Regions from separate parts of the Homo sapiens genome. Here all the other regions are linked to region 3. The links are contacts of gene promoters, found by promoter capture Hi-C in blood cells and fetal thymus (Javierre and others, 2016). All regions are on one chromosome and are shown on one strand. Each heading gives the region's core, a stretch centred on a gene start or on the middle of the fragment in contact. The rest is flanking DNA. Distances are from core to core; before and after follow the strand shown.

Region 1 (4,888 bases), core at 674-3,173, 310 kb after region 3:
ATGTAAGTGGTGGGTGTTAAAATTATTCAACTGATCAGTTAGTCTACTGGTTTCAAGGCTGGTCTTGGGGAATCCCCTTCTGAGAAGCAGGGAAGGGGCAGTGGACCTAATGGTCTCTCAAGTCCCTTTCAAGCTCACACTCTGTGACCTACATGAGCTGTTGCCCTCCTGTCACTCCTCCTTCTAGCCCTAGGCTGTGGCCCTCCAGAAGGCCAGGGTCACTCTGCCTCTGGTTGCCCAGCAAACAGAAAGTCCTCTGTCAGAACGGACCAGCCAAGTGGGCAGAGTTCCTCACTGGGGCAGAGCTGCACTGGGGGCAGGTGTGCAATCTGGGGCAGGTGGGAAGGTGGCAAGGACAGGTGATGCCACCGTAACAGAAGGAGGAAGTGGCAGGGAGGCCCCCACAGCCCCAAAAGTATAGGTCATTCTTCCCCCCAGGTCAGAGGTCATCCCTCCCTCAAGGTCAGGGATAGGGCCCAACTTTCAGATGAGCCAGGAAAGCTCGCTGGATGGAAGAGCTCATGGAGAGTTTAAATTAAAGAGCCTGGTGTTGCTTCTGAAAAACAAACAAACAAACAAACAAACAAAAAACCCTCTCTCTGCATTGATTCCCTTTGAAAAGTATTTAGTTCAACACAGAGGAGAGGGTTGGAGGAAACAGAAGCCGGGAAGGGGGAATCACAGACGGGCTGTGATGTGACATGCATGGGCAAGAGGCCTGGCTCCCTAAGTCTGCAGTGCCAGTGACCTGGCCCTGCCTCAGGTGGGATTTGCCTCCTAAAAGGTAGCCACATTCAAACAGAGCTGAGACCTCCCAGCCCACCCCAGGGTCTGGCCGGCCAACCTGCCTTCTCCTGGCTGCCGTTCTGTCTGTCCTCTCTCCCCAGGAGAAGCCAGGGTGGTTGCAGTGACACAGCAAACTGCCTGGGCCCCAGGCAAGGAGCTTGGGGGCAGCCAGCTCTCTGCCACTGGGAGTCTCCTGAGACCTCACAAACTGCCCCAGCTTCCCTCAGTCTCCGCCGGTGTGCTGGCTCAGCAAGGCTGGTGAGCCCTGAGCTGTTGGACAGGGTGCAGCTGCCAGCTCCCAGCCACAGCCCGACTCCTTTTCCAGTGCCCCTTCCACAACTGCCACCCCAGCTGCCCTGGGGCCCCCAAACCCTGGGGGAGGCAGCTTAACCTGTCTGTGTCTCAAGCCATCTGTAAAATGAGGGCTTTCATGAAGCCGCAGGGGAGGGAGTGGGGCCCTGGGGTGCCGCAGAGGAGGCTGTGCAGGCAAAGAGCCAGAGCCCTTGAGCAGGGGGACTTTGAAAGTTACCAGAGTGACCTCCATTACCCAGGAACAAGAGGCAGCCAGGCCTCTGGACAGAGCAGAATCTGAGGCCTAAACATCAAACCCCTAGGCTCCTGGCTTCTTCTTTTGCTGAACCCCCCTTGGAGGCGTTGACTCATTCCCCTGTATTCTCCAAAGCAAGGGGAGAAGAAGGGCCACTCACCAACCCCAGCTGGACCCACAGACCCTTCCTGGCCCCACCTGCAAGTACCTGGGAGAGTGAATGGATTGGTCCTCCTTGGTCATGTGCTTACCTCGTCCAATCAGCTATGGGCACAGTCTGAACTCTTAGCTGAGAACCCCCACCCTCCGAGTGAGGGGAGGGGCATTCCCAACACCATTCGTCCTGAGTAGGAAGTCACTCCCACAGGTGTCCCAATAAGGGCCTGTAGCCCTGGTCTGGGAGTCAGAAAGAACTGAGTGGGAGAGGGTGAGTGGACTAGTCCAGTTCAGCACCTTGGACAGGTCACTCCAGTTTCTGATATAGCAAAGGAACTCATAGTCCCTGCCCGGCTGCCCGGCTGCCCAGCTGCCCTGCCTCACAGTGAGGCTGCCGAGGGGGCACCAAACAGCCAAGGGTGGGACTCAAATCCTCAGACACCTAGACTTCATCCAGGGCTCCCTCCACTACATCAACGCCCCAGGAGCAGGCTCTTCTCCCAGGCTATCCAAGGAGGGACCGACGCGGGCATTCATATATGAAGGCGTTCTAAAATGTAGGTTTTATTATTATTCAGGTATGGTGAGGCTAACAGATCAAGGGACTGCCATTAGAAAGAAGGTTTGTTGGCCGGGCGCAGTGGCTCAAGCCTGCAATCCCAGCACTTTGGGAGGCCAAGGCAGGCCGATCACGAGGTCAGGAGATCGAGACCATCCTGGCTAACAAGGTGAAACCCCATCTCTACTAAAAATACAAAAAAAAAAAAAAAAATAGCCGAGCGTGGTGGCGGGCACCTGTAGTCCCAGCTACTTGGGAGGCTGAGGCAGGAGAATGGCGTAAACCCGGGAGGCGGAGCTTGCAGTGAGCCGAGATCGCGCCACTGCACTCCAGCCTGGGCGACAGAGCAAGACTCCGTCTAAAAAAAAAAGAAGGTTTGTTATACCCACAGACCCCAAGAGGAGGGGACTCACCACATCACACAGGGCCAAACAGGAAACACAGGGCCACACAGGGAAACACCGAGGTCAGTCAAGAGGCAGAGGGAGCCAGGGGAAGGGGTGGCCAAGAGCCTTTATTGTGGTTCCCATGGGAATGAGCAGGATTGGGGTCAGCTCACTTGAATAATTTCAGGTTCTCTGGGGCATAGGGGCTGTTCCTAGTTGTCTGATACCTGGCCCTGGGGCGATTGGGGCAGGTAGGCAGGGGCCCAGAGTGTCAGAGTGAGGAAAAGGAGACTATTGGGGTGTGAACACCAGACTGCATGGTTTTCATATGAAAGGCGTGCTCCTAAGTGAGCCCTTTATTACCCCTGGGACTTGGCCCTGGGTGGGGGCAGTCCCTCCAGAGTCAGCAAGACCCCAAGATGTCAAAGCAATGGAAATGCAGAACATAAAAGGCAGGATTCATACAGAGGGTGGATGTCTCGGCCAAACTCCTGGGCAGCGACTGACCCCTCAGAGGCTCCCACTTGCCCAGCTCAGGAAGGGCGGTTCCCCAAGGAAGGGTGCTGGCATGGCGGTGAGTCAGCCCCAGTACCCACTCTGTCCCCCCGACCAGGCTGTCCTCCAACTCTCCACCTGCAGAGAGCCTCCAGCCATGCCTTGTCTTCCTCATCAGAGAGACCTGGTCCAGCCAGTGCTGGGCGGGGCTCTGAGCACAGCCCGCATGTCGGCGGCGGCTCCTGACATGGCTCCATCTAGCCTGACCGTGGACTGCTGGCGTGGGCCCAGGAGTCAGACTTGAGTTTGAGAACAGTCTCTGCTTCACAGTTGGGGGACCTCAGGGGAAATACGTAATCTCTTCAGACCCCAGAAAGAGCATTTTATTCAACCTCTTCATTTTTCTCCTCTTTTGAAGCCCAGAGAGATGGAGACGTGCCCAAGGCTGCAGAGTTAATTTGTACTCAGTGTACAGGGAATGGGTTTCTGATTCCAGGGCCCCATGTCAGCTCCACCAGCCTAACCATTTTACCATCCGCCTTTGCCACTCCCCTCCCTAGCGCCACTGGGCCCTGGCAACAGAGCAGGAGTGAGCAGAACCTTCCACAACCCCTCACTCTGGCTTCCCAGCCACTGCTGGCTTTGAAGCCGGTTTTTGTGACTTCGGAATATTGATTGTATTCCCTGCTGGCATGGCTGTTTGTTGGTCAGGCTTTTGTTTGGAAGAGTCCTCTTGCAGGCAGCCTGGGGTCACCTTCACATCCCGTCGGCCCTACCAGAGGATCTCCTGGCCACGGAGAAAGGCAGGGAAGAAAGGCAGGACCCTGGGGACACCCCATTCGATGGGGGTTATTCTTCCAGTGCAGCAGCAGCCCTGCTTCCAGGCAGAGGTGGAGAGGGCCTCCAAGTACCTTTGTGCAGCTGTGATTCTGCTGTCCAGAAAAGAAGAACTGGACCCCACAGAGGGCCAGAAGCCATTGCAGAGTTGAGCTGCAGCTTGGGCGGAGCTCAGGGATACCACAGGAGCTTCAGCACAAGCCAAGTGGGAGGAACAGAACAGGCATGGGCCAGGGGTCTGCAGGCTGGGCATGCCGGCCTCATGGCTGCACATCTGCTGTACAGTGCCTCAGGATGAAGCCAGGGCCTGCCACAGGGCCAAGTGGAGACTGCCAGCTCTGGAGCCAAGCGCACCTGGGTTAAATCCTCAGGCAGGCTACTCCACCTCATGGTCTCAGTTATCATATCCCTAAAGTGGGGATAATAAAAGTACTCCCTCATAGGCAGACAGGAAGAAGCAATGAGATGATGAGTGTACTTGACTCACTGGAAGGGCCCACTGATCCATCATCCGTGAGTCCTTTTTTTTTTTTTTTTTTTTTTTTGAGATAGGGTCTCACTCTGTCTTCCAAGCTGGAGTGCAGTTGTTGCAATCTCGGCTCACTATAACCTCCGTCTCCCAGGTTCAAGCGATTCTCCTATCTCAGCCTCCCAAGTAGCTGGGACTACAGACACGCACCACCACGGCCGGCTGATTTTTGTATTTTTTGGTAGAGACGGGATTTCACCATGTTGTCCAGGCTGGTCTCAAACTCCTAACCTCAAGTGATCCACCCGCCTTGGCCCCGCAAAGTGCTGGGATTACAGGCGTGAGCCATGCCCGGCAAGCGATTACTCTTAAAGTAACACCTCCAGCCTTGTTTCCTGTTACCCTCTCACTTGCACTCTACATTCTAGCCTCCCTGAATTTCCGTCTGCTTCTGGAAGCTTCCATGCTCTCTCACTCCTCCAGGCTTGCGCACATGCTGTGGAATACTCCCCCAGCTCCTCTTTCCCCAGCTAAGTCTTCCCCAGCTTCTAGGTCTCAGTCTTAATGTCACCTCCTCCAGGAAGCACTCCCGCTCTTGCTGCGTGCCCTGCAGCACCTGTGCTTTCTGCATCCCAGCAGCCCTCACAGGGGAT
Region 2 (5,496 bases), core at 2,268-4,767, 290 kb after region 3:
ATGCAGCCAAAAGCCAAGCAAGACTAGGGATTGCCTGAAGCCAGGAGAGGCACGAAATAGATTCTCTCTGAGCCTCCAGAGGGACCCAACCCTCCCAACACCTTGATTTTGAACTCTGGGCCTCCAGAACTGTGAGAGGATAAATTTCCATTGTTTTAAGCAACCGCTTTGTGGTCATTTGTTACAGCAGCCACGGGAAACTAACACAATGTCCAAGGCCCTGTCCTGGTCTGAGGCATCAGGGACAGCACCCTAGAGGAAGCGACATTTGATCAGAAGCCTGAAAGCTAAAGGAGGTATATGAGTTAGCAGCAGAGAGCATTCCAGGCTGAGGAAATAGCAGGTGCAAGGGCCCCAAGGCAGGAAATAGGTTCTGAAGGAAGGAAAGACCCAGAGGACTGGCACATTGGGGAGGGAGGAGGTAATGCCAGATGCTTCTTGAGAGGTGGGCAGAGGAAGACCCCCTTCCCCAGAGGAGTCTGTACTTTCTGCTGAAAGAATAGGATGCTGCTTCCAGCCTGGAATCAGAGAGGTCAGCCCCGTGGGACCTGAGTCTGGCTGGTCTCTGCCCTTCCCATGCCTGCGGCTCTGGATTAATACTAGCTGATGGACGGATGGGCTTCGTTGTGCTGTGTTCGAGGAGTGCAGTTCACCCTGAGTGTATCTGTGGTGTGCTCACTGCCTCCCAGGACCGTGTGTCACCCCTCCCTGTCTCTGCGTCCATCCTGAGTCCTTTGTCCCATGTCAGACAACCCCTTGCAGTGTACCTGTCTCCTCAACCCCCAATTCCTGTACCCCAAGCTTGTCGTGTTAACAGGAGACTTCCCTTCCCTTTGTCACCCTTCCCTTTGTCATCCTCAGACTGAATTAAAATAGCATTGCCACAGAGCCGTATCCGAGGAATTCCGAGTCCCCGGTGACTTCATTAGCTCCAGCGCCTTGAGTCATTCGAACCACGGTGCTTTCTTGTCCCGTCCCCTCCTCCCTGCAGAGGGGGTCTTATTAGCTGGGAAATATGAACCACTTAGTAGTTGCATTAACTCGGTGCTTCCAACACGTTTCATCTCTGCCTTTCTTCCCGCCCTGCCCTCTCCCGTGTCTCTGCCTCTCTACTCATTAGCCGGAGGTGCCTCCACTCTGGCTTTCTCCCTGGCACTCCATCGCTCTACCCCTTCCCTTCCTCGTCTCTCACATCTGTTTCAGAATCAAAGGATGTGAACACCTTCAACCAGAACCTCCTCCTTTAGGGAATGCTTAATGCCCACGGGCTCGGCCTCCCCCACATGGCATCAGGACCCTGCCCACCTCACCTACACCAGGTGCCCAGAGGTGTCCAGGAGCTTCTGAAGTGGGCATCATGCATGCCCCTACAGCGGTTTCAGCCGCAGCCCCCACATGGCCCCTCACCCTGCTCCCCTTTGCTGTCCTGGCCTCTACCCACAGTCCGGACCTGGGGTACTTCCCTCCGACCCTGGAAGAATGTCAGTGTCCCCACCAATGGGGCCGCTGCCAGGAGCTGCCAGACCCCCGTCCCCCACATTCCCTGGGGATGCCTCCATGGTCATCTGGGCCCAACAGGAGCGTGGCTGGAGTGTGGCCTGCTCCAGAGGCCACCAGCTGACCCTCAGCCACCCCACCTCTCCCTGCCCTCCCTCTGGGGGTCAGCAGCCATCCATGGCCACCTCACACACTCTCATGTGTTCTGGTGTCTCCTGCTCCTACCTCGTAAAAACCTCTCTTTATGCTGGGCATGATGGCTCACACCTGTAATCCCAGCATTCTGGGAGGCCGAGGCAGGCAGATCACTTGAGGCTGGGAGTTCAAGACCAACCTGGGCAACATGTGAGACCTCAAATAAAAAATATTTTAAAATAGGCTGACCGTGATGGCTCACACCTGTAATCCCAGCACTTTGTGAGTCCAAAGTGGGCAGGTCACCAGATGTCAGGAATTCGTGATCACCCTGGCCAACATGTACTAAAATACAAAATTTAGCTGTACATGTTGGTGCATGCCTGTAATCCCAGCTACTTGAGAGGCTGAAGCAGGAAAATTGCTTGAACACGGTTGGCGGAGGTTGCAGTGAACCAAGATCACACCACTGCACTCCAGCCTTGGTGACAGAGTAAGACTCCATCTCAAAAAAAATTTTTTTTAGTAAAAAAATAAAAGAAATTACCCAGGTGTGGTGGTGCATGCCTGTAATCCCAGCTACTTGGGAGGCTGAGGCAGGAGGATCACTTGAGCCTGGGAGGCAGAAGCTGCAGTGAGCCATGATCACACCACTGCACTCCAGCCTGCGTGACGGAACAAGACCCTTTCTCAAAAAACAAAAACAAAAATAAAAAAACCCTCTCTCTCCTCCCAGTTCTCCTGAGAAGGCTGCAGTGGGCATGGCTAGGGTGTCACAGACCCTGCCGTGTGGGGAAGGGGCTACTGTCACAGCAACCAGCATAGCCTGGAAGGACATCAGTGCTCATGCAGAGAGAGAGGGAAAACAGACCAAGACCCAGGTGGGGTCCCGGAGGCTGAAGGGGGTGTCAGGCCGCTGTTGGTCTCAGGGGAGCCTTCCCTGTCACTCCCACTTCTGGGCTCGTGCCTCCAACTGGGTTGAATGTAACCAACTTTCACTGGGCATTCCTTGTGCCAGGCCCTGTGCTAGGCTCTGGGCATTTGGGGGCGAAACGTCGAGAGAGAGATCATAAGTAAACAGTACAAGGGAGGGAGGGGCCGGAGCCTAGTCCTGCAGCCCGACAGCCTCTGTTCTCCAAACACCAAGTGGGCCTCTGTGCTTGGAGCCTGGGGAGAACACTGGGGCACCCTCTCCTTTCCCTCAAGGGGTTCGAGGGTGGCACAGCAGGCACAGACTCCAGGCGTCTGCCACGGTGGCGCTCAGCATGCTGGAAGGTGGGGCTGGGTTGGAGGGGCCTGGGTCAGATTCTTGCCTCTGCGGCTTACAAGCTGCATGACCTTGGGCAGACTGTTTCACTCTCAGGACCTCAGTTTTGGCATTTCTAAAATGGGATGATAGCATGCGCCCCACCGTGTTGCAGTGAGGATAGAATGCAGCCACTCGCCCAGGGCCATGGCTCAGTGCCCGGCACGCAGTAAGCACGCAGCAAGCTCTTGGTGACAGTTACCATCACAGTGGCATTCGTGGGAAGTGGGGATAGGGGCTTGTATGCGGGCAGGAAGGAGGGGAAACTGGCCCTGAGTGGAGTACCATGAAGGAGCTGGCATTTGGACTGGGCTCAGGAGGACCCGGAAGCTTGCATTAAGGAAAAAGCATTTGTGTCCCAGGCCTCTGGACCTGCTGGTCAGCACTATGAACCTGAGCACCGTGGCCTGTGCCCTCCACCGCCGTGCACGCTCACTGAGTTCCTGGTGGGTGCTGGTAGCCAGGGCTGCCAAGCTGCACAAGTCCAAGGGGGGCCATTCACACAGAAGCTGAGGTGGAAGGAGCCCCCGGGGCTCTGTGACGCAGCAGCCCTGCCTCGGCCCGCACTGGCTGGGCACTGAGGACACGGCAACCAGCAGACCAGCCCCTGCACTCATGGAGAGCCAGGACCGTGCGCTGACAGGATGGGAGACCCGTGGCCAGCAAGCCCTACAGCCACAGTGCAGAACCTCCCAGGCCTGGGTCCTTTCCAGGTGTCGAGTGCTCCGGGGCCCCGCAGGCTCCTGCCTCTCCCTGCAGAAATCGCTGCTGGTCCTGCATTGTGGTTGGAAGGTCCCAGCGGATCAGGGAAGTAATGAGCAAGCTTGCCCTCCCCACCGCTTAGCCCACGGCTCTGCCAGGCCAATTAAGCTGCCTGCTGATCACCTGCGCAGGGGAGAGCCCAGCCGGGGTTGGCTGAAGTAAAATGATCTCCGTGCTCCATTGTAGAGAGGAGAGCTGTCGCCCCAAATCCAGCTCACATACTTGTGCCTTCTGGGTCAGGTTTGCTTTGCAGAAACATGGTTCTGCAGCAGAACCTCATGAGGGGTTGCAAACTGCTGCAGAGTGCAAGTATCCATTCATTCATTCTTTCATTCATTCATTCATCCAGCAAATGCTGGTTGAGAGGCCCAGGGTGTCAGGTTCTGCACACAGACAAGGGGGACACAGGCCTTGCGTGGGTCTCACTTCAGTTGGGGAGCTCTGTGAAGGAGCTGGCACAGGGGCTGGGATTTGGAGGGGTCAGGGAGTAAATTGGAGAGGATGCTGGAAGGTGATTCTCCAGGGAGAGAAGAATGCCAGTGGATGGATCCAGAGGGAAGCATGGGGCAGAGGGCACAGCGGCCCTCCTGGCTTCGTGTATTCAGGTGCTAGGCCCACTGTAACACGTTACCTCAAACTGTGTGGCTTAACTCAACCTCCATTTCTTCACTGTTCAGAAGGCCAAAAGTCCTAGGCCAAGGCAGGCGGATCACATGAGGCCAGGAGTTCAAGACCAGCCTTGCCAACATGGCGAAAACCTGTCTCTACTAAAAATACAAAAATCAGCCGGGCATGGTGGCACATGCCTGTAATCCCAGCTACTTGGGAGGCTAACGCGGGAGGATTGCTTGAGCCCCGGAGGTTGCAGTGAGCCAAGATCATGTCAGTGCACTCCAGCCTGGGTGACAGAGTGAGATTCTCTCTCAAAAAAAAAAAAAAAAAAAAAAAAGCCGCAAGTCTAAAATCAAGGCGTTGGCAAGCAGGTTCCTCCTGGAGGCACTGAGGGAGGATCCGTTCCAGCCTCTGCTCTCCAGTGGCTGGGGTGTGTCTCAACTCATGATTGCACCCCTCCCATCTCTAGCTCTGTCTCCCCGCTGCTGTCTTCCCTTAGTGTCTCTGTTTCTTCTTTTTTGTCATCAGGACACCAGCCGTTGGATTCAGGGACCGCTCTAATCCAGTAGAGCTTCATTTTAATTTAACCAATGACACCAGCAAAGACTGTACTTCCAAATAAGGTCATAGCCACAAGGGTGAGGACTTCACTTGGGGTTAGGACTTGAACTTTTCTTTGGGGAGCCACCGCTCAAGCCATGGCACTTTGGTATTCTTGAGTGTGGTCTCAGCCTGAGTCTGGCTGAGACTTGACGCTGATCCTAACTCTCTTGCCTCCTTGGGGAGCCCAGGACGGTGCAGTGTTGTGGGGTCCCAGAGCAGGAAGGTAGCATCATGCAGCAGGAGGCACCAGAGAAACTGTTGGGCCGTTTCTTACACAGTTCAGCCATAGAGCTCCACATCAGTCCCTCCTGTCTAAATGCGGTCACCGGTCTTGGGCCTCCCTGACTCTCCCAGTAGGAACCAAGGGAAATACTGACTGCCAAAGGAGCCAAAACCCCAGGCCACATTGGGGTCCCCCACAGAGCCCGGACCCAGAGAAGGCATCTGGGGTGCTCCAGAGAAAACCCCCACAGGCCAGAGTGTCTGACCTGGCTGGGCACAACTGACCCCACCTCCAGACTGCCCAGCACTCCCACCTTCCCCAAAGCCTCTTTATTTTTTTCCCCCACCTGCCTGTGGTT
Region 3 (5,539 bases), core at 2,744-5,243:
AGTGTAGTGGCACGATCTCGGCTCACTGCAACCTCCACCTTCTGGGTTCAAGCGATTCTCCTGCCTCAGCCTTCCGAGTAGCTGGGATTACAGGCACGTGCCACCACGCCAGACTAAGTTTTGTGCACATCCGGCTAAATTTTGTATGTTTTAGTAGAGACGGGGTTTCACCATGTTGGCCAGGCTGGTCTTGAACTCCTGACCTCGAGTGATCTGCTCTCCTCGGCCTCCCAAAGTGCTGGGATTACAAGCGTGAGCCACCGCACTTGGCCGGGAAGTGGGGAATTATTAAGGAGGTGGAACTGAGGTGAACTACCCAATTTCAAAATCCTTGTCAGCACAGTCTGGCTGAACTGAAGATTTTTCTTACCACCTAGACGGTGGTTTAGACTTTCCCTGCCTCTTAAGGATGGCCTTTTTATTTACTTACTTATTTATTTTTTTTGGAGACGGAGTTTCACTCTTGTTGCCCAGGTTGGAGTGGAATGACGTGATCTCGGCTCACCGCAACCTCCGCCTCCAGGGTTCAAGCGATTCTCCTGCCTCAGCTTTCCTAGTAGCTGGGATTACAGGCATGTGCCACCACGCTCGGCTAATTTTGTATTTTTAGTAAAGACAGGGTTTCTCCACGTTGGTCAGGCTGGTCTCAAACTCCCGACTTCAGGTGATCCTCCCGCCTTGGCCTCCCAAAGTGCTGGGATTACAGGCATGAGCCACCACGCCTGGCCTGGATGGCCATTTAAAACAACTTATTGGCCGGGCGCGGTGGCTCACGCCTGTAATCCCAGCACTTTGGGAGGCCGAGGTGGGCGGATCACAAGGTCAGGAGATCGAGACCATCCTGGCTAACACGGTGAAACCCGGTCTCTACTAAAAATACAAAAAATTAGCCGGGCGCGGTGGCGGGCGCCTGTAGTCCCAGCTACTCGGGAGGCTGAGGCAGGAGAATAGCGTGAACCCGGCAGGCAGAGCTTGTAGTGAGCTGAGATAGCTCCACTGCAGTCAGGCCTGGGCGAAAGAGTGAGACTCCGTCTCAAAAAAAAAAAACAAAAACAAACTTATTTTGACATAATTTCATACTTGCAAGAATAATACAAAGTATTCCTGTATACCCTTCACCCAGATTCCGTGTCTGTTGACATTTTACCACATCTGCTTTCGCCTTCTCTCTCTAAATAAACATATTCATTTTATTTTCTTTTTCATGTAGACATAATGATGATCTTTTTTCTCTTCAGGGTGTATTTCCCCCAAAACAAAGACATCCTCTTCCATAACCACAGTACAATGAACAAAATCATGAAATTATCAATGATATGGTTTGGCTCTATGTCCCACCCACATCTCATGTCAAATTGTAATCCCCAGTGTTGGAGGAGGGGCCTGATGGGAAGTGATTGGATCATGGAGGCGGATGGATCATGGAGGTGGATTCCCCCCTTGCTGTTCTCGTGATAGTGAGTGAGTTCTCACGAGATCTGGTTGTTTAAAAGTGTGTGGCACCTCCTCCTCTTTCACGCTTCAGCCATGTAAGATGCGCCTGCTTCCTGTCACCTTCCCCCATAATTGAAAGCCTCCTGGGGCCTCTCCAGTCATGGTACCTGTACAGCCTGCAGAAACATAAGCCAGTTAAACCTCTTTTCTTTGCAAATTACCTAGTCTCAGGTATTTCTTTATAGCAGTTCAAGAACAGACCAATACAATCACTGATAAAATACTGTTAACTCATCTACAGATCTTACTCGGATTTCACCAATTGTCCCAGTTGTATCAGCAAAAGAAGATCCTAGCTCACACATTGCCCTCAGTTGTCACAGCTCTTTGGTTTCCTTTAATCTGGAAGAATTTCTCAACCTTCATGTCTTTCGTGACACAGACATATATATATATATATATGTAATTTTTTTTTTTTTTTTTGAGACTGAGTCTTGCTCTTGTTGCCCAGGCTGGAGTGCAATGATGCACTCTTGGCTCACTGCAACCTCCACCTCCCAGGTTCAAGCAATTTTCCTGCCTCAGCCTCCCAAGTAGCTGGGATTACAGGTGCCCACCACCACGCCCAGTTAATTTTTTGTCTTTTTAGTAGAGATGGGGTTTCACCACGTTGGCCAGGCTGGTCTCGAACTCCTGACTTCAAATGATTCACCCACCTTGGCCTCCCAAAGTGCTGGGATTACAGGTGTGAGCCACAGTGTATGGCCTGACACAGATATTTCTTGAAAAAGTATAGGTCAGTCAGTTATTTTGTCACGTTTTTCAGTTTGAGTTCTATTGATGTCCTGATTAGATTCAGGTTATGCACTGCTGGCAAGAATATCATGGAGGTCATGTTGTGCTCTTTCCAGTGCATTGTATCAGGAGGTGCACAACATGTCCCGTCACTGGTGATGTTGACCTTGGCCTTTTGGTTAAGCTGGTGTCTGCCATGTTTCTCCACTGTGAAGTCACTATTAAGTCACTATCCATCCCCCCTTATGTTTACATTAATGAATTGTTTAAAATTTTTTGGTAAAATATACATAATATAAAATCAACCATTTTCACTGTTTCTAAGTGTCCAGTTCTGTGGCATTAAGTACAATCACATTGTTGTATGGCCATCACCACCATCCAGCTGTAAAACTTTTCCAAGTCTGTACTCTTTAAGTACAGACTTAAATATGGCCCTTTGCAATATTATGCTGAAATCTTCCTCTCTACAGCCTTCCTACAACTGGTTATTGTTATTGCCACTAGTTAACCAAGGAGGACTCTTGTCTTGGGTTGACATGAAGGTGAGTTGAAGGTCACAATCATGATCTGCCTCCTGCTCTCCTCTTCTCTGCTCCAAGCTATGCAACCCCAGCTCCTCTAAGGAAAGAACATGAGGACTTGGGCAGGTTCCCTTTAGTAAAAAGATAATAAATTTTCAGAAACCTGTCTATAGCCAACAGGACAAAGAGACATTGAATTTTTCCATAAAGCCAGATTTGGCCAACATTTTGTTGGTTTTATTTAAATCCCAAACCTTCTCTTTCTTCCACAACCTCTATGCTATGTATGTTATTTTCAGAGGTGTGTGTTCACTGTAAACCAGCCACCATTCTACTTTCTGTCTCTAACATTTTGACTACCCTAAACACCTCATATAAGTGGAGTCACACAGAATTTTGTTTTTTTGTGACTGGCTTATTTCACTTAGCATAATGTCTTCAAGTTTCCTCCAGGTAGCATATGTCAGAATTTTCTTGCTTAAGCCTGAAGAATTTTTCATTGTATGCCAGTATCACACTTTGTTTATTCATCAGTTTATGGACACTTGGGTTTCCCCTGCCTTTTGGCTATTTGGTGAATAATGCTGTTATGAACATGTGTACAGGTATTGAGTCCCTGCTTTCGCTTCTTTTGGGTATATGCCCAGAAGTGGAATCTCTGGATCATTATTTTCCTCTTCTTAATTAATAAGCATCTTGGGGGACGATACTTTGAGATTACCTAAAAAGCCTGTTATTTTTCTGACACTTTCACCCACTAGTTTTAGCATCCATCGATTTCTATCTGAATCAATTATTCTAATGGCTGTCAAATGGCAATTTTCTAATTCCATCACTCTTTCTGCATTTATGAGCTGGCATTCTATTGGAAAGAAGAAACTTTCCTTCTCCCCGCTTTATTTATGAATATGGACTCATTTTATTGAATGGGCTATGTTCCTTTCCTTTTTACACTATTGCTCTGAGCAATTCTTTTCCCTATGATTCCCCAGAGTGCAAGTTTGGGGAAATGCGGGAACTTTCTGTATTTCTTTGTCACCATTAAGCAAACCGGGAGTGCAACCTGACTTCCCCAAGTTGAGAAAAATCACTTTCCTGCCCATGCATTAGTTTAGCTCAAGGGGAAACCCTTTTTCGAAAGTGCTTTCTGGGTAGCCCCGCGCGAACTGCATTTCCCAGAGGTCTTCGGAGATACGTCATCAGCGAGCGCGGCTTTTTTGCTTGCGAAGCCGGCTTTGGAGAGCTGCTGTGGCGGCGGCAACATGGCGGACGTGATAAATGTCAGTGTGAACCTGGAGGCCTTTTCCCAGGCCATTAGTGCCATCCAGGCGCTGCGCTCCAGCGTGAGCAGGGTGTTCGACTGCCTGAAGGATGGGATGCGGAACAAGGAGACGCTGGAGGGCCGGGAGAAGGCCTTTATTGCGCACTTCCAGGACAACTTACATTCGGTCAACCGGGACCTCAAGTAGGTACCGGCTGAAGGGGCCGGGGTCGGGGACCGGCCCCGCTCCGACCCTGCCCCTACGTCGCTCGAGTCTTCCCAGGCAGGGGCTGTTCTCCGTTTCCCTTGATCCCTGTTCTTTCTCTTCTTGTTCTCCAAGCCTCTGCCTGTCCCTCAGGGACATCTTAACACCATCCCCGCTTTCTCGTCTTGCTTCTCCTGGCCTCCTGGTCCTGTTTGTCTTCCGCCATCCTCGACCTCTTCTGTGGCGGTTCCATTCCTAACAAGGAGGCATGCTTTTCCCATGAACTTCCACTTCTCTGAGCTTGGCAGGTTTCTCACCTGTAGGCCCTCTGTGCCCCATCACGTCTGATCCGAATGTAGTAATAGTACAGACAGGACCTGGTCAGTCGGCTCCAAACCCAAGTGCACCCGATCTGATTAGCCCCAATTCCCCGGCCCTGAACTTGGACTTCATCAGTTCCACCACCACCCACCCGCAACCACGACGGACCGGCCAGGCCTTGAGCTGTCTTCACCTTTTCCCCTAACCGCTCCCAAACCACCTGATCAGTTTCCTCACTCCCACTCCTGTGGGAGTTCCTTCCGCAGTAGAGACCTACTCTCTAATCTCTTAACCAGTTTAATTACTTATGCTTAACGCCCCTGCTTCTTAATTTGTAGTCTTTTAGGGTTAAGGATTCCACTTTTCCTCCTCTTCCTTACAAAGTACCTTCTTCACTTACACTTTTTAAGTGTTGTAAGAATTAAATGAGAGGATGTTTGTAAAGGGCCTGGCACATAGTAGGCACTTCTTGATTGCTTAGGTCCTGAACTTGCCTTCTGTTTTATAAGAGAGTCAGTCCTTCCCAGGAAGGTTAGAATTTCAGGATTTTTGCCTTTTACTTCTCAGAACTGACCTGAGTAGGGGAAAGCATTTGGTGAGCTAGTCATCCTTTGATTTCTGGACTGGTTGGATTTTTGTTTTTTCAACTTGGTCTCCTTAGTAACCAGATGGAAAGAGGAGGTAGGATGGAGGAGGAGGAGGAGGAGGTGGCCAAATGATGGGTGCCTTTTTGTTTTCCCCCTAAGTAGTTGCCGTAAATCACACAGCCCTCCTCAACGCCCACATCCGCTTGCTGTTCTCTGGCACCGCGCCGAGCACCAGTTAATACTTTCTCTGCTTCAGGGGATGCACTGGCTATTCTTCCCTATCTTCTGTTTTCTTTCCATTTTCTCTCCGAGTTACTTCCCTTTGTAATGTTCAGGATATTATAACCCTTCACCATTTTAAATAGAAACTTTAAGAGTGCTGACATTATCCTTTTGCCTTCTTAAATCTTTG
Region 4 (4,977 bases), core at 1,999-4,498, 260 kb after region 3:
GACGCCCCTTCTCAGGAGCAAGGTCGCCATCCCTTCATGGCCAGCTTGCCCAGCCCCAGAATGGTGGCCTGGCCGAGGAGGGGCCGTCTCATCAGTGCTGCAGGAAGCTTGTGCTGTTGTGGTGGCGGAGACTGTACCGCACCCAGGGTGACCTTCCCATGACAAAAGTGGCGCTGGCATCAATTATTCACGCCGAGCACCTTGGAACGCGCTCAAAACACACGGGCCAGGGCTTTTTGTTGTTACCCCCACCCCGCCTTTAAAGACATTTGTCAAATCTGCGTCTGGCAGAGAAACAGAGAGACGGGGCATTCGGAAGGGACGGGGAGCCGAGCGCCCACGGGGCTCCACCAACTCGCCGGCGCCGGGCTCTCCGCGGCGGCCCCACGCAGAAAGAGCTGTCTGCCGGCCGCGGGGCCTTTGATTCCTCCCTGACAGAGCGCTGACGGATTGATCTGGAGCCGTACATAATTCATGAGCCCCTGAGCCGCTGTGAATTCTGAGCAGGCCTTTCTACGACACAGACGACACAGACGAAGCTGGGCAGGAGAGAAGGGCTTGGGGCGCGGGCGTCATTTCCAGACCTGGGACAGGGAGATGGGGCCTACCCGTCCTCTCTTCCTCTGCCACTCCCCTGGCTGCCACCGTCCCCAGGAGATGCTTCTTCAGCAGGGTGCAGAGAAGAGTTCAAGGGAGGCTCCGGGGCTGTGGGGGTGGCCACGTGCACAGTCCATCATCTCAGAGACAGGGCTGCAGGGACCCTGCCCCATCTGCCCCCTAGAACCCCGAGCACACCCTTCCAGATGGCCAAGAGGAGACTGCAGCCCCTAAGGGACGCCCTCAGGTCACAGTCCTGCACACACGACTAGCTGGGTGACCTTGCACAAGTCACTCAGCCGGCCTGAGCCACACTCTCTCCCTCAAAAGCACAGGGATAATAAGCACAACAGGTGAAGGCACTTCCCTTCCACCTGCAACCCAGCTTTCCGCTGCACTGTTGGAGGTGATGGTCACTTGGGATTCTCCTAGCAAGTCACACCCATCCCCCTCTTTTCCATGTCGCCCCCCAGCTCCATCTCCTGGGGTGCAGCCATAGGCAGAGTCTTGGGACCTGGTTCACACTCAGACCTTGAGGCGCAGACCATGACCCACGCTAGACCAAGGAGCACAGAACAGAGCCACCATCGGGTAGAGAAAGGCGTGTCAAACTCAGTTTCTCAGAACCCCAGGAGGTGGTTCACAAGCCCCGCAAAACAGCGGAACGACCTAGAGTTTGCAAAGGACAGCATCTGGGCCTCCCCAGGAATTCAGATTCAGAGGTCCTGGTGGATCGGGAATCCATGCAGTTCTCCTGATGTGACTGAGGTGGCCGCTGCCTGGCCAGAAACAGGTACCTGGGAAGAGGCCCAGGCCCAATTCTATGATATTTTCCAACTGGAGTGTGGCTGGAGGTGTTTCTGCAAAACAATTAGGTTGTCTTTTTTTTCCCCAATGTTTCTGGTTGACGACATTGATTTTTTTTCTCATACTATTTATTGTTAATAAATTTTTTCCAAACTGCAAATTTAGTACATACATAAATGTTTTGTTATTCTCCGTGCTTTTCTGTATTTAAATTTTTTCAGGCCGGGCGCGGTGGCTCATGCCTGTAATCCCAGCACTTTGGGAGGCCAAGGTGGGTGGATCACTTGAGGTCAGGAGTTCAAGACCAGCCTGGCCAACATGGTGAAACCCTGTCTCTACTAAAAATACAAAAAATTAGCCGGTCATGGTGGCGTGCGTCTGTAATCCCAGCTACTCGGGAGGCTGAGGCAGGAGAATTGCTTCAACCCAGGAAGCAGAGGTTGCAGTGAGCCGAGATTGTGCCACCGTAGTCCAGCCTGAGCAACAGAGCTAGACTCCATCTCAAAAAAAAAAAAATTTTTTTTTCAACATTAAAACATAATATATATTGCATGCCAAAAAAAAAAATATGGAAAATAGAAAAGCAGAAAGAAAACTATCTCCCAGGCTGGGCACGGTGGTTCACACCTGTAATCCCAGCACTTTGAGAGGTTGAAGCAGGAGGATCATTTGAGGCCGGAAGTTCAAGACCAACCTGGCCAGCATAGCAAGCCCCCCATCTCTAAAACCAAATAAACAAAAAGAAAACTCTCCCCCACAATCCCTCCATCCACAGATGATGACCATGAGCACCTTGGTCTGTGTCTTCCCAGGACCATAGCGATGTGAACAGAGAGACATCCTATTTTATCTTGCTATGTTTTAACTGTGGTAAAATATATATAACATAAAAGTTACCATTTAAACCATTTTTAGGTGTATATTGTTTGCAGCCATCACCACCGTCCATCTCCAGAACGCTTTCATCTTCTAAACTGAAACTCTGTCCTATCAAGCACTCACTCCTCATTCCCCCTCCCCATCCCCTAGCAACCTCCATTCTGCCTCTATGGATTTGACAACTCTAGGGACCACATAGAAGTGGAATTCTGCAGCATTTGTCTTTTGTGACTGCCTTATTTCACTCAGCATCATGTCCTCAAGCTTCGTCCAGGTTGTAGCATGCGTCAGAATTTCCCTGTTTCTAAGGCTGAGATATAGAGATCCTATCTATGAAATAAAATCATGTTATGGGTACAGAGTCTCTGTACCAACTGCTTTTTCACACAACATAGATTGAAAACCTTCTCCCATCAGAAACCAAGACATGATTTCCTTCCTTCCACCACTTCTTCCACCAGGTACATTCTCCTGAAAGCAGCTCTGGCCTGGGAAGCCCAGACCCTCTTTCCAGCTTGGGCACCTGGGAGGGGGCAAGTCCCACCTTAGGCCTCACTTGATCCCTGTCCAGTGAGGGGCTCGAGCTCACTCTGAAGCCCCAAAGTGCCTGCTCGTAGGCCATGTCTGGCCTACAGACACGATTCATGTGAGCTTCAGAAGTTTTCATTTTGAATCAACATAAAACATCTGGAGCTTTCACACTGTGTCAAGGGTCCATAACACCACCCCTACCTCCTGTTCAGTGATTCACTGGGACTCACAGGACTTAGCATACTCTTTGTATCACAACTATGACTTATTACAGCAAAAGGACACAAAATAAAATCAGCAAAGGGAAAGGTGCATTGGACAAAGTCCCAGGCAAGAAGGTGCCAGTTTCCAAGGGTTCCTTCCCAGGGCAGTCTCATGGGAGCAATTCCTCCTGCAACGTGTTGTAGCAGCACAGTCGAAGTGTCGTCTACCAGGGAAGCTCATTAGAGACTCAGTGCCTGGGGTTTTTATGGAGATCTGGTCACATAGCATTCTCTATCTAGCATGAAACAAAATTCCAGACCTCCAGAGGGCAAGCAGGTGTTCTGCATAAACCCCATTTTGTGTGCAAACAGTTCAGGCACAGCAAAGCAGCACAGCAAAGTTAGAGAATGGTGGCAACTCTCTCAAGATCCAAGTTCCCAGATGCCAGTCAGAGGCTACTCTTGCAAGCAGGCCTTTTAAAGGAGAGCGGTCTCAAGCACGCTATCTTAGTTCTCTTCTGCACACACATCAAAATCCAGGATTTTAAAAGTCCAAGGCTTAAGACAAAAATACAAACCATTTTGCCACCTCTCTGGGGGACAATAGCATATCTTTAAGGCAGGTGAGTAGGTCTAGGAGTCTTCATTGTTCCATTCTTGCAAATTAGCTGTAGGTTTGAGAGTAGAAAGAAGTCTAATGAAGACGTGCAACCTACACTAAAAACTGCAAAATGCCATTGAGATAAATTAACAAAGATCTAAACAAATAGAGGTATATACCATGTTCACGGATTGGAAAACTACAATACTGTAAACATATCGCTTTCCCCTAATGAATATCTAAATTCAATGCAATTTCAATCAAAATCCCAGGAGGTTTCTTTCTCATGGAAATTGACGAGCTGAGCCTAAAATTCATATAGAAAAGCTTTGGGCCAAGAATAGCCAAGAAGATCTTGAGAACAAAGAACAAGGCTGAAAGACTCACACTACAAGACATCAGAAGAAAAAAAAAACGCCACAGTAATTAGGACAGTGTGGGATTGGCACAAGAATAGACAAACTGACCGATAGAACAGAGGGAATCCAGAAAGAGACCTCCCCTCCCCACAGTGTACTCAACAGGGCAACCCAGCCATAAATGGGGAAAAGAGGGTCATCTCAAAAACATACCTCACAAGGCGAAGCATGGTGGCTCATACCTGTAATCCCAGCACTTTGGGAGGCTGAGGCAGGAAGATTGCTTGGAGCCAGGGGTTTGAGGCCAGCCTGGGTAACACAGTGAGATACCATCTCTAAAAAGTTTAAAAATTATCCAGGCGCGGTGGTGGGTGCTTGTAGTCTCAGCTACTCTGGAGGCTGAGGCAGGAGGATTGCTTGAGCACAGGAGGTCAAGGCTGCAATGAGCTGTGATCATGCCACTGCACTCTCGCCTGGGCAACAGAGCAAGATCCTGTCTCTATGACAAAACAAAACAAACATATCTCACAAATAACAAAATATCCATTCCAGGTGGATTCTAGATCTAAATGTGAAATACAAACAATAAAGCATTTACAATAAAGCATTACACTTTTGTGATCTTGGACTTGGCAAAGATGTGTTAAATAGGACACAAAACTAACCATAAAAAAAATAAATTGGACTATAGTAAGAATGTTTATTCATCAGAAGAACCTACTAAGAGAGTGAAAAGGTCATCTGTACAGTGTAATTAATGCAATATAAGGATTCATACTTATAACGTGCCTACAAACCAGTAAGAAAAAGACAGACATCCCAGGAGATAAATGGGCCTGGATAGGCAGAGAGGCCAACAGGGTTCCCAAATGAACCGAAAAATACCCCATATGACAAGAGGCTCAGCTTCATTAGCCAACAGGGAAATGCAAATACAAGCCACAGTGCAATGTCAATACACACCCACCAGAAAAGCTAAAACAAAAAAGATAGAAAATAA

What was found. The method cuts DNA at HindIII sites, captures the fragments that hold promoters and counts their contacts. A CHiCAGO score of 5 or more calls a contact.
Region 1: a fragment that was not itself captured here is called in contact with the fragment with the promoter of MED27 in region 3 in 1 of 17 cell types (endothelial precursors); the score reaches 5.1 in endothelial precursors.
Region 2: a fragment that was not itself captured here is called in contact with the fragment with the promoter of MED27 in region 3 in 1 of 17 cell types (endothelial precursors); the score reaches 5.6 in endothelial precursors.
Region 4: a fragment that was not itself captured here is called in contact with the fragment with the promoter of MED27 in region 3 in 1 of 17 cell types (endothelial precursors); the score reaches 6.4 in endothelial precursors.

What each region holds. Positions count from the first base shown.
Region 1 is chr9:131,770,983-131,775,870 of GRCh38, reverse strand. No RefSeq gene overlaps it. Among named protein-coding and RNA genes, the nearest start is that of RAPGEF1, 33 kb to the right of the region's middle. The HindIII fragment of the contact is 5,545 bases long and covers 1-4,695 here.
Region 2 is chr9:131,790,061-131,795,556 of GRCh38, reverse strand. No RefSeq gene overlaps it. Among named protein-coding and RNA genes, the nearest start is that of RAPGEF1, 53 kb to the right of the region's middle. RefSeq lists an enhancer at 1,028-1,532. The HindIII fragment of the contact is 493 bases long and covers 3,271-3,763 here.
Region 3 is chr9:132,078,321-132,083,859 of GRCh38, reverse strand. MED27 (mediator complex subunit 27) reads left to right here and starts at 3,993. Exons shown (of 8, transcript NM_004269.4): 1 at 3,993-4,218. The coding sequence starts at 4,016. RefSeq lists an enhancer at 3,817-4,096. The HindIII fragment of the contact is 6,112 bases long and covers 1-5,539 here.
Region 4 is chr9:131,819,350-131,824,326 of GRCh38, reverse strand. No RefSeq gene overlaps it. Among named protein-coding and RNA genes, the nearest start is that of RAPGEF1, 82 kb to the right of the region's middle. The HindIII fragment of the contact is 1,398 bases long and covers 2,550-3,947 here.